2 separate regions of the Homo sapiens genome follow, and region 1 is linked to region 2. Evidence: promoter capture Hi-C in 16 types of primary human blood cells and fetal thymus (Javierre and others, 2016). All regions are on one chromosome and are shown on one strand. The core of a region is centred on a gene start or on the middle of the fragment in contact, and the rest is flanking DNA. Distances in the headings are between cores, read along the strand shown.

Region 1 (6,403 bases), core at 3,892-6,391, 600 kb before region 2:
TCCTGGGGTTGGACAACACAGTTTTTAGTGCCAGTACTTACCATTCCCAAGCCCATGGCAGACATCAAGAATGAATCGCAGGACTCCTTCCCACAAAGCTGGAAAAATAGCCCATCTCAATGTAGCAATCCAGACAGATTCAATCAATTGACTGGAGTTGATGCATGTCATCAAAGTTATTTAACATTTTATCTTATTGCATGTCAAGCCCAGGGATAGGGAATACAGAGGTGAAAAAAATTTTCTCTGCCCTCAAATCTGGAGGCAGGACATAGGTAGGGGTTAAGAGGAGACAAACCTGGGAACACATATTTATAACCAGGTTAAGTTTAAAACCAGGGTTAAATGTATGAACCCAGTATTGTGGAAGTACATATTAGCCAATGACTAATTCCGCCTAGAAGTGAGACACAGAGGTGGGTTTTGAAGGATGAAAAGGAGCTGAATAGGCCAAGCAAAGTAGGAAGGGTATTACTGGCAAAGAGACTAACATATACTAAGGCTTAGAATAACAGAAAGCACTAGAACAGGTAGGTGTAAGGAAAAGAAAACCTGTACCCAGAGTGAGAAAAACCATTTCCCTTCATCCCTCTATGCTGTAGTTACATCATCTGTAAAAATAATAATACCTGGCCGGGCGCGGTAGCTCACACCTGTAATCCCAGCACTTTGGGAGGCCGAGGTGGGCGGATCACTTGAGGTCAGCAGTTTGACACCAGCGTGACCAACATGGTGAAACCCTGTCTCTACTAAAAATACAAAATTAGCCAGGTGTCCCGGCACATGCCTGTAATCCCAGCTACTTGGGAAGCCAAGGCAGGAGAATCGCTTGAACCTGGGAGGCAGAGATTGCAGTGAGCCGAGATCACGCCATTGCACTCCAGACTGGGCAACAAGAGTGAAACTCCATCTCAAAGAAAAAAAAATTGTAATACCTATCTCATAAGGCTGTAGTCAGGATTCAGTAAGATAATGTATGTAATGCCCTCAGTATGGTGCTGCCTGCTTCAATAAAAGTCAGCTCCTAGTGATGTCTCCAGAACATCAAGGAGCATGAAGCTGATATTTGGCAATTGAGCCAGAATACATTTGAAGGAGAGGAGTATCATCAGATTTTTAAAATGTTTATGTTTTCCATGATTAAAACATATGTTTATATCTGTTTATATCAGAAGGGTTGAAAACATTTTAAATAGAAGAAAAGAGAATCTTACCTAACCCTACTACCACGCAGAGAGGACTTCTGTTAATATATTGGTGCCATGGTTTCCAGTCTTTACTCAGTGCAATTCTTTTCTATGCCTATGACCATACCACATAAACAAGCTCTCTGTTTTTTCTACATACAAATTATTATGTAAGCAGTTTTCCATATTATTATAATCTCTTTGAACATATCATTTTAATGACTCATATTCATGGAGTGGATAGACTATAATTTACTCAGCCATTTCGCTACTGTTGGACACATAGGTTGTTTATCTTTTTTTTTTTTTTTTTACTCTTGTCAATATAATGTTATGGGAGAATATCTTAGCACATAAGGCTTTTTTCTGTACTTGAGACTATTTCCTTTAGATAGAGACCTACATGTAGAATTAGAGGCTTCAAGGGTCTTGATTAAAGGCTACCAAATTTTTTCCTGAAAGGGTGTATTTACACTCCTTCAGCAGTATTTGTTTCACTGTAGCCTTACCAGCTTTGAGCATTCTCATTTTAAACAAAATCATTGCTAATGTGTTGGCTGCAAAGAACAAGATCAAAGGCACAGTGTTTTTCTCACTATTCAGAAGCTGGAGAAGAGCTCATTTGTGTGTCTCACATGCATGTTCTGTGTTACAACCTCTCAGTGCTTGGTTTTTATCTGTTTACTGAGGGAGGGATCTTCAGGTTATTATCACATATAGTTAAAATAGTAACCCTTTGTCATATTTTATTTTATTTTATTTTATTTTTTTGAGATGGAGTTTCGCTCTTGTTGCCCAAGCTGGAGTGCAATGGCATGATCTCGGCTCACCGTAACCTCCACCTCCCGGGTTCAAGCAATTCTCCTGCCTTAGCCTCCCGAGTAGCTGGGATTACAGGCATGTACCACCACGCCCGGCTAATTTTGTATTTTTAGTAGAGATGGGGTTTCTCCATGTTGAGGCTGGTCTTGAACTCCTGACCTCAGGTGATCCACCCGCCTCGGCCTCCCAAAGTACTGGGATTACAGGCATGAGTCACTGCGCCCGGCCATATTTTAAAAGAAAGATTTTTCTTTCTTTTAATGACAAACAAATGACTTTGTTTGTCATTTGCCTTTGAATTAAGGCTTTATGTTCTGATGGAAATAAGTCTACAGATCTTTTCCTTTGCAATAGCTTCTCCTTTCCTGTAGAAATTTGACAGGCAGGACTTTTTAGCTCTCTCTGGGTAAGTCACCTTTCCCTCTGGACCTCAGTTTCCCTGTCTTTTAAATGGTTGGATGGGTGGAGATGTGATTTCTCAGCTTCCTTCTAGGTGGAGATTCTTGGGCTCTGGACTCCACAGTGCAGCTCAACATTGGCAACCCTCTCCACATGCTCTGGGACTCCAGCTGCGGAATCTCCTCTCCTTGAGACTGAGAGTTCATTCAGCGATCGTCTTTTGAGCATCTACCACACGCCAGGCACTATTCTAGATGCTGGGGATATGGTAGTGATGAAAAAACAAAGTCCCTGCCATCATGACCTCTAGTAAAGGGAGATGGACAACAAAGAAACCAGAAAGTTATAATTCAGATGGTGATAAACACTATGGAAAAAAATGAAACAGGGTAAAGGATTAGGGAGTGCCAGGAAGCAAGGAAGGAGGGAAGTTGCTTATATAGGAGGGTCAGGTGACATTTTAGTGGAGACTTGAAGGAAGTGAGGGAGCCGGCCAGGCAGATATCCAGAAGAGCATTCTAGGTAGTAGTTACCGCAAGTGTAAAGGCCCTAAAGCAGGAGGCCAGCATGGCTTGAGCACAAGGATTGAGGGGGACAAAGCAGGGGAGAGGGACAGAGAAGAGGTAGGTGGCCTTAGGGCTCTCATAAGGACTTGGCTCTCACTGAGCGAAATGGAAAGCCCAGGATGGTTTTGAGCAGGCCAGTGACCTGATTGCAGCTGTTTTCAAGGAGTTAGAAAAGACCTCTACCCTAGTGGGTACTGCAGGCTCTGGCTCTGGGATGAGCCACACCCTGTCCCATTCCTGATGAGGGACCTTGGCCTCTCCTAGCCTTAGTTCTTTATCTAAGAAATAATTCCAAGGATTTAGCCAAGTACCCCTCCCTCACTGCAGCTGACCTAACTGGGCCAAGCTTTTGTGTAAGTGGTAGGGAGGAGTTGGAAGGGGAGGGAGGAGAGTGGAGCCAATCCAGAGGCTTGAATGTTTAATGTGGAATTTCCTCTCTCTAGGGGACCACAGGTGGGGGCAGCTTGCAGGGGGAGGTTATTCAGTTCACTAGTATCTAGCCAGCACCTACCCATCCTGAGTCTCGGACTCCTGGCTCAGGGGAGGTGGGGTAGCTAACAAGCTCCAACAGGCCCAGGCACAGTCACAGTGGCCAGAATTGGAGCCATCCATCCTCCCAAGAATCAGGCCTGTCAGGACCTGCCTCCAGAAACCCACTCAGCTGCTCTGTTCTCAGGGAAGGTGGCCTTTCCTGATTCTGCTCCCCCTACCTCCAGCCCCTGAATTAGCACCCTTGGAGTTCAAAACTATTTTCCACGGTTGGAATTTTGTATCAATTAGTAGGATTCTTTGACTATTTTTCCTCTCCCACCATTCTAGAAACTAACGGGCCTGGTGAGGGCTTTGTCTATTTCCTTTCCTGTTGTGGTCCCGGAGTCCCCCAGCACAGTGCCTGGCACGTAAGGGGCACTCAGTAAATGAGCTGAATGAATGAAAGATAGGGGAGTAAGGAAGGTAATGCTGTTCCTTTTTACAGGCAATAAAACAGAGGCCCAGACAGGGTCTGACCTCCTCAGCAGCAGAGCAGGTGACTGCCTTCTGGCCTAATTCCTATAATGGGAGCCACCCAGGAGCATAGGTTCACACCCAAGGACCTCCCAGGCCCTCCCCCATCTTCTCTAAGGGAACTGCAGAGCCAGGCCCTGCCTGACCCCAGAAACAAGACTAGTTTCCCAGGAAAAGATCCTAGGGCAGGAGTGGAGCAAGTGACAGCTTGTTTTTTATTTTATTTTTATTTTATATTTTTTGAGACAGGGTCTTGCTCTGTCACCCAGGCTGGAGTGCAGTGGTGCGATCTCAGCCCACTGCAACCTCTGCCTCCTGGGCTCAATTGATCCTCCCACCTCAGCCACCCGAGTACCTGGGACTACAGGTATCTGCTACTACGCCTGGCTAATTTTTGTGTATTTTTTGTAGAGACAGGGTTTTACCATGTTGCCCAGATTGGTCTCGAACTCCTGGGTTCAAGCGATCCATGCGCCTCAGCCTCCAAAAGTGCTGGGATTACAGGTGTGAGCCACCACTCCCAGACGTGACAGCCTGTTAATAGCAATAATAGCACTTTGAATATACCAGACACTGCTTTTCCACAACTTTTTGAGACATGTTTTGTTAGCAACTCCATTTTACAGATGAAAAAACAGAGGCTCAGGGTGGTAAGTGGCATGCCGAAGGTAGTGGCAGAGCCTAGGTGCTCCAACCCAGGCAGCTGGGCTCAGCCCACTCCGATCCTCTCCAGCTGCCTCTCTGTTACAGCGCAGAACATCAGCAGCATCAGGAGTCATGTGCTCTTCCAGCTCTGCCTTGAGTACCCGATGACCTCGTTTCCTCAGCGGTAGATAGCGATGGTTAATATTGGCTAGCCTGTAGAGTTATCGGGAGACCAACGCACAAAAAGGGTTTAATACCGTGCCCAGCACATAGTAAGTGGTCAATACATGTTAATTGTTGATATTCTTGTTATCTGTGGTGTGTCTGGGCCGGGAGGGAGGGCTGCAGGGCGGTGTCTACGCACACTTTACAGGTGAGGTCATCCCGCGGGCTGGGGGTGCCGGGCCCCTCGCTGGCCCACGCCCAGCCAGGTGCACCCGCGGCGAGAGTCCGGTGGCCTCAGGTCACAGGCCCCTCCCCGCCGGACATTTAAGGAGGGACGCCGGGCGCAGGCGCAGACAGCGCAAGCCCCACGCCACGCGTCGCTGGTCCCAGGCAGCGAGTCGCTCGCGCGCCCCGCCGCCCGCCTGGCGACAGCTCCGCCGCGCACGCACATGGAGGGGAGCGCGAGCCCCCCGGAAAAGCCCCGCGCCCGCCCTGCGGCTGCCGTGCTGTGCCGGGGCCCGGTAGAGCCGCTGGTCTTCCTGGCCAACTTTGCCTTGGTCCTGCAGGGCCCGCTCACCACGCAGTATCTGTGGCACCGCTTCAGCGCCGACCTCGGCTACAATGGCACCCGCCAAAGGGGGGGCTGCAGCAACCGCAGCGCGGACCCCACCATGCAGGTAGCGGGGCGGCGAGGAGCCTGGCAGGTGGAGGGCCCTGGTCTGGAGCGTGGGGGCAGCGGAGGGGCGGGGCCTGCGTAATGGTAGTGGCGGGTAACTGGAGGGAGGGTGCATTTTGGATGGTGGGCGGGACCAGAGCAAAGGGGCCTGACCGAGAACCTCAGCGGGTGGGATGCGAAAAGCTGAGCTAAAGTCTGGCCTTGCAGGTTAACAAAAGGGGGGGGAAAGGAAAGGGAATGGGGCCTTGGTCCATGTCCTTCCCCCTCTCCACTGGCAGATTTTGAAAGCTGTGCTAAGATTCTCTGAGGTTTAGGGCTCCAAAGGAAGTCCTCATCCCTGTAGCTCCCGGGATGGCGAGGATTTGGGGATTGTGGAACCCAGAGTGAGGAACCGCACCCTGGTCATTGTGCCCCTACAGGAAGTGGAGACCCTTACCTCCCACTGGACCCTCTACATGAACGTGGGCGGCTTCCTGGTGGGGCTCTTCTCGTCCACCCTGCTGGGAGCTTGGAGCGACAGTGTGGGCCGCCGCCCGCTGCTAGTGCTGGCCTCGCTGGGCCTGCTGCTCCAGGCCCTAGTGTCCGTTTTTGTGGTGCAGCTGCAGCTCCACGTCGGCTACTTCGTGCTGGGTCGCATCCTTTGTGCCCTCCTCGGCGACTTCGGTGGCCTTCTGGCTGCTAGCTTTGCGTCCGTGGCAGATGTCAGCTCCAGTCGCAGCCGCACCTTCCGGATGGCCCTGCTGGAAGCCAGCATCGGGGTGGCTGGGATGCTGGCAAGCCTCCTCGGGGGCCACTGGCTCCGGGCCCAGGGTTATGCCAACCCCTTCTGGCTGGCCTTGGCCTTGCTGATAGCCATGACTCTCTATGCAGCTTTCTGCTTTGGTGAGACCTTAAAGGAGCCAAAGTCCACCCGGCTCTTCACGTTCCGTCACCACCGA
Region 2 (6,277 bases), core at 2,708-5,207:
TTTATTTTACATGTTAGGGGTTATCATTTTTCTACTGATATCATGAACATTATTTCTTATCATAAAGACTCTTTTTTTTTTTTTTTAAGAGATCAGAGTCTCACTGTTGCCTAGGCTGGAGAGTGCAATGGTGCAATCATAGCTCACTGCGGTCTCTTAATTCCTCAGCTCAAGTGATCCTCCCACCTCAGTTAGTAGCTAGGTCTACAGGTGCTTGTCACGATGCCCAGCTAAATAAATCCTTTTTTTTGAAACAGGGTCTCACTTTGTTGCCCAGGCTGGGGTGCAATGGTACAATCACAGCTCACTGCAGCATCGACCTCCTGGTCTCAAGCGATCCTCCCACCCCAGCCTCTCGAGTAGCTGGGACTGCAGGTGTTCACCACCACACTTGGCTAATTTTTGTAATTTTTGTATTTTTTGTACAGACAGGGTTTTGCCATGTTGGCAAGGCTGGTCTCAAACTCCTGGGCTCAAGCAATCCTCCCATCTTAGCCTCCCAAAATGCTAGAATTTACAGGCATGAGCTACCACACCTGGCCAAAAAATTCTTAATACACTTTTTTTTTGGCCACGTAATGGTACACTATAAAGCTGGCCTGGTGTGCCTTTCTCTATGCTGATCACTTGGGTTGTTTCTGGCTCTCGTAGAGAGCGATGCTCCAGACATCTCTGTGCACACAGTGGTCAGGCTCTGCAGAAGTTGCCAGTCGTTGCTACATTCTGCCTTTCAGGGGCACTCTGGTGGGGAAGATAACTTTTCCAAGAGCATCAAAGACCAGATATGTATGAGGTGGGGAGACTCAGAAAGCCCAGATACCACAGCTGGAAAGGCCTCAGAGACCCTTAACTGAGGAAAGGGAGGCCCGGAGGGCTTATGTGGCCTAACCAAAGATGCAGCGCTTCTTAGGGAAGGATACAAGAGGGTGGGCTTAGCTGAAGCTCTTGGCATTTAGAACTTCTTGGATCAGCATCCAGCACCCTCAGAGGCTGTACCTGGGGAGGAGGTACCTCTCTTCCTCCATTTGACCCAATTCTAAACCCCCTGTAGCAGTGACGTCTGTCTTCGTCTCATTCCAGTGCACTTTGTGAATTCTAGAGGGCTTTCCCAGAACCAAGGAAGGCTGCTCTGCCCACAGCAGGCCTTGGGAATTTAACCTCCCTGGGAGCAGCCTCAATGAGTGATGCTCTGGAACTGCTGGGTCAGTAGCCCAGCCCCTGGCCCCTTGGATGGGATCATTTGAAGCCCTGTTTTCTGCACCATTTTTCAAGTTCCCTGGTGGGGCTGAGTCTGGTTGCAAATCGTGAAAGCTGCCCTATAGTACTTTTACCAGCTGCCTCCCTTTCTCTGTCTCACTTCCTCATTCCCCTCCTGATGTCCCCTGCACTTCCCAGATACACTACTTGCCCCTGAATCTTGCCCCTTGAACCATCACACCCTGGGACTACCCCAGGTGCCACTCTGTTTGTTGTTTCTCCGCCTAGAAGGACGGGCACCCAGGAAGCAAAACGGGAGGGCAGGGAAGGGAGGGTGTTCTGGGGAGGCTTGACAAGAAACGAGGCTTTTAAAAGAAACAGCAGCAAAGTGCCAGGCCTGCACCAGCCAGCTTGAGTCACACTCCAGGGACTCAGCAAAGCTTGTCCACCTTCCTGGTCCACCCTGGGCCTGTCCATCCTGGAGTGACCACCGGGCGTTTCCAGTAAAAATCCCTTCACTTCACTTCCGTCATCTCCGAGTCAGGCAAGGTGGTGGAAACCGGGGAAGACCTCAGCTTCGGAGCTGCTGGAATTTGTGTGACTCACGCCCTCCAGTGGTCACTTGACAAATGACATAGGGCTCACGGTCTGGGGACTTGAGCTTGTTAGGGCCTCAGAACCGGGAGGGTCCCAGGAATGCCTCTTCTCAATGCCTTCCTTTGACAGCTGAGTGGAGTGAAGGCCCCACAGGACACGTGACTCGCCACGGGACATGCACACACACAAATAGAGAGTAAGAGCCACGCCCCTGTGTTTCCTTCACGTCCCACCTTTATCATTTGTGTCACATCTGCATGCACCTATACTGTTATTTGCTTAAACATTTTACCTTAAACTGGCTCTCTTTAAACCTTAAATATATTTCTAAAATAAAATTTTTATCACTTTCTGTGAGGCGGGGCACACAGTAGGAACTCCGTCTCCTCCTTCCATGGCCTTGCACAGAGCTGGCACCAGACACTGACATGGAGGGGAGAACATTCAACCCCAGGTAATCCTCAGCTCCTACCTTGATCTCAGTTTCCCACTCTCTCATTGTCACCTCTCCTTGCCCCTGGGTGTACTCACCTGTAGCAAAATGGGTAAGCACACAGTGGGCGCACAAGTGGGGTCCAGTCAAGGTCTCAGACCTGGGTCAGTCCTCAGCTTTGCCACTTACAAACTGAGTGACATTGAGCTGGTCGCTCAAACTTTCTGTGTCTCGGTTTCCTTATTGGTGAATTGGGGATAGTATTATAATAGTACCTGCCACACAACGTTGTTGGAGGATTAACTGAGATAATAAATGGAAAGCCCAGGGCCTGGCTGTATTTATGGAGCAAGCACCAGAGCAAGTGCAAGCTGGGACTCCAGGGTTGTAGCCCTGCCACCACCTGACTGTGTGGTCTTGGACAAGTCATTTGGCTTTGCTTAGCCTCAATTTCCCCATCTATAAAATGGGGCTAGTGATCATTCCCACCCCATAGGACTGTTGTGTGGATTAAATGCTTGGTATGTTTAAGTGCCTTGCTCAGTAAACGTTAGCTCTGATCAATTGTTTTTGTAGAAAAGCCTTCAAAGTTGCTAACTTCCGAGGGCTAACTGGATCTGAACCATCTTCACAGCCTGGCATAGAAACAGATCAAATCAATCCAGTGGAAAATCAATTCCAGGATAATGAGCCCAAGACATTCCCGTGCTGATTGCTGTCAGCATGGTGCCTAGGACAGCCTGGGAAGGCAGGGAGGAGGGCATTTCTCCACAGCAGCCTCGGAACCTCTATCGCCACCCTCCGGGGGGCCCACCTGTCCCCCGCCTGCCCTTCAAGGTGCTCTTTGATTTCTCCCCAGCAGAATTCACCTGCTGCATCCATCATCAGAAGAGGCCAGGAATGCGGCCTGCTGGGTGGGCAGGGCCAAGAAGAAGGCAGCCGTGCAGGCCCAGGAAGCCGTAGGAGACTTGCCAACCTCCAGGAGGGGGCCAGCCCTGGACCCTGCAGACAGGCGCTCTGGGGAGGGTACCAGAAGCTCACTGTTTGTCCCGGCTTGAAGGCTGTTTGCTGTGTGACCTTGGTGAGTCTCCTAACCTCTGTGTATCATCACAATCATTATCACTATTTTTACTCTCCTCCTCTTCCTATTTGCCGGTTAAGAGAGGATTGGGATAGTGGTCATGGTTATACAACATTGTGAATATTCTAAAAACCATTGCATTTTACACTTTAAAATAGTTAATTGGTAATTTTATGTTATGTGAAATTTATTCCAATTAAAAATTAAAAATACATACATGAATTTAATGTTACAAAGGGAGAGAGAGGACCGGGAATTTAAAAGCAGGTGTTTGTGGTGGGACGGGGACCTGTCTGAGGAAGGATACTTCAGAAGGCAAGTCCTGGCATCCACTTGCTCTTTGTCAAAAGGGAAATTGTTACTCTCTGACTCCCAGCAAGGATAATAAATTCTTACTTGGCTGACTTTTTGCTCAATGGCTCAAAGCATTTTCTTGTATCTCGTTTATTTACTTTTATTTTTATCACCTTTTGTCACGAGAAAAGTCAGGCCCAGAGAGAAGTGGCTTTTCCAAGATCACATGGTAGGTCAGCAGTGAAGCTGTGCCTCGAACCTGGGACCTTTCAGGCTAAAGGAAACCAGAACATGCCACGCCCAGATATGCCGATATGGCATCCTGATTATCTCCAGCTGAAGGCATTTGAGAAAGAGCAGCTAGAGAGAGGGCTATCTGAACTGCCCTGTCCTGCCTGCAGCAAGCCATAAACATTCCTTGGAGAAAGATGCTTTCCCAGCATCAAGATGAGAAGATAACTTTTATCAGCTCAGAGATGGCACCAGAGCCATCTACAAATACAAACAAACCTTGCTATCCTACTCCTTAGCTCACTTCCACATGTTTACCTTCTCACAGCTTGCCACCCCTGGAAGCCTACAACTGCATTCGTCTTGTCACCTTTCTCTTCTTTCTTTCTTTCTCTCTTTCCTTTCCTTTCTTTTCCTTTCCTTTCCTTTCCTTTCCTTTCCTTTCCTTTCCTTTCCTTTCCTTTCCTTTCCTTTCCTCCTTTCCCTCTTTTTTTTCCTTTTTTTTCTGAGACAGGCTAGGGTGCAGTGGCGCGACCATAGCTCTCTGCAGCCTCTAACTCCCAGACTCAATTGATCCTCCCACCTGATCCTCCTGAGTAGCTAGGACTACAGTAGCTGGGCATGCCACCATACCCAGCTAATTTATTTTCAATTTTTCTGTAGAGATTGGATCTCACTATGTTGCCCAGGCTGGTCTCGAACTCCTGGCCTCAAGCAATCTGCCCACCTCAGCCTCCCAAATTGCTGGGATTCCAGGCATGAACCACCGTGCCCAGCCATCTTGTCACTTTCTAAAATGCATTGCTCTTCATGGCAGATGCTCCATAAGCCAGAGTTCTAAGCCGCAGCATTGAGTTACTTTCACTGAGGCTTCTCCTGCGTGGTGTGCATCACAGACATTAACAAACTTGCTTTTTTTTCTCTATTATTAATCTGTCTTTTGTTACAGTGTCTTTCCCAACAAATAACTTAAGATGATTGAGGAGAAATTATATTTCCTTCCCAGCTGGCTAATTCCAAATGTGTCCTCAAGCCTGGTGCTTGGACTCAAACCCTGCCACAGGTCAAGAATGCCACACCAAGCAGACGCTGTGTTAGAGGGGCACCTGAGGTGACATGTTTGACAGATCACATAACTGAATAACTGCATTTTCTGAAGGAAAATCAACGAAGTGCTTTGAGGCCAAGTAGATGGGATTCTTGAGGATTCCATGAATAGCAAATAGTAGTATCCCCCTCAGAGGCTCTTGGGTGGGGGCATTAAATGTGTTAATACATGTGTTTGCTGCAGGTATAGCCAGAATATGTGAAAGCAGCTACAGGGAATAGAGTGTAGCAAACTCCTAATCATCCCTCAAAACCCTGCCCTGGTGTCCTCTCCCTTGTAAACTTTCCTTGAACAAGGCAGAACCAGCTACATCAGCACCATACCATCCCTCCATCACTACAGATATCACTCTGTACTATAATTATCCATTTATTTTTCTAGGCCTTGCACTCCCTAAGGCCAGGATTCTGACTCTTTCCCTGAGTGCTGTTTACCTGAACTGAACCGGCATGAACCACCACGCCCGGCCATCTTGTCACTTTCTAAAATGCATTGCTCTTCGTGGCAGATGCTCCATAAGCCAGAGCTCTAAGCCGCAGCATTGAGCCGCAGCATTGAGCTGAAGCCTGAAGGGAAGATGGCTTTGATATGTTAAAACTCATTCCAGTTTACTCCTATTTTTCATTCATTCATCCACACATTCACTCAACAAAGATCCTTGAGCTCTGATATCCATGTCTTTTTTGTGGCTCTTAGTTTATCTTTGACAAAGTTAATATATTATGCTGAATTTAACTTGGGAAAGACAAGAAGGAAATGAGTGGACAGTGGTAGCAAAGTGTTGGGACGGTGAGATCAAGGGTGACTTTTTTTCCCTTTGCTTCTCAACTTCTCCCTAATGTAGTTGTTATTTTACTTTTATGATGGAAAAATGCATATGTATGGGAATACTGTATTTCAGGCATTATAAGGAATGAAATTATAGGCCGGGCATGGTGGCTAACCCTTGTAATCCTAGCACTTTGAGAGGCTGAAGTGGGCAGATCACTTGAGCTTCAGAGTTCGAGACCAGCATGGACAACATGGTGAAACCCAGTCTCTACCAAAAACACAAAAATATTAGCTGGGTGTGGTGGTGCATGCCTGTAGTCCCAGCTACTCAGGAGGCTGAGGTGGGAGGATCGCTTGAGCCTGGGAGGCAGAAGTTGCAATGAGCAGAGATCGTGCCACTCCGCTCCAGTCTTGGTGACAGAATGAGACTCCATCTCAAAAATAAATAAATAAATAAAATAAATGAAATGAAATTATAAGAAATTACCACTTTTTCATGTAAGAAGTGATCATTTCCATTATAAGGGAAGGAATTTAATCCTACCTGCCATTCCACCAAAGCTTA

Evidence for each region. The method cuts DNA at HindIII sites, captures the fragments that hold promoters and counts their contacts. A CHiCAGO score of 5 or more calls a contact.
Region 1: the fragment with the promoter of SLC46A1 here is called in contact with a fragment that was not itself captured in region 2 in 1 of 17 cell types (M2 macrophages); the score reaches 5.8 in M2 macrophages.

What each region holds. Positions count from the first base shown.
Region 1 is chr17:28,404,950-28,411,352 of GRCh38, reverse strand. SLC46A1 (solute carrier family 46 member 1) reads left to right here and starts at 5,141. Exons shown (of 5, transcript NM_080669.6): 1 at 5,141-5,466; 2 at 5,885-6,403. The coding sequence starts at 5,239. LOC124903964 (a long non-coding RNA gene) reads right to left here and starts at 651. Exons shown (of 2, transcript XR_007065688.1): 1 at 42-651. RefSeq lists enhancers at 2,146-2,986, 6,127-6,403 and silencers at 4,960-5,299, 5,500-5,659. The HindIII fragment of the contact is 6,961 bases long and covers 3,323-6,403 here.
Region 2 is chr17:27,801,154-27,807,430 of GRCh38, reverse strand. No RefSeq gene overlaps it. Among named protein-coding and RNA genes, the nearest start is that of NOS2, 3.8 kb to the right of the region's middle. RefSeq lists enhancers at 1,098-1,117, 1,034-1,273, 1,304-1,363, 1,687-1,707, 899-1,946 and 1 more, cis regulatory regions at 3,405-3,544, 4,203-4,338 and promoters at 1-6,277, 5,872-6,277, 1-6,277. The HindIII fragment of the contact is 4,636 bases long and covers 1,640-6,275 here.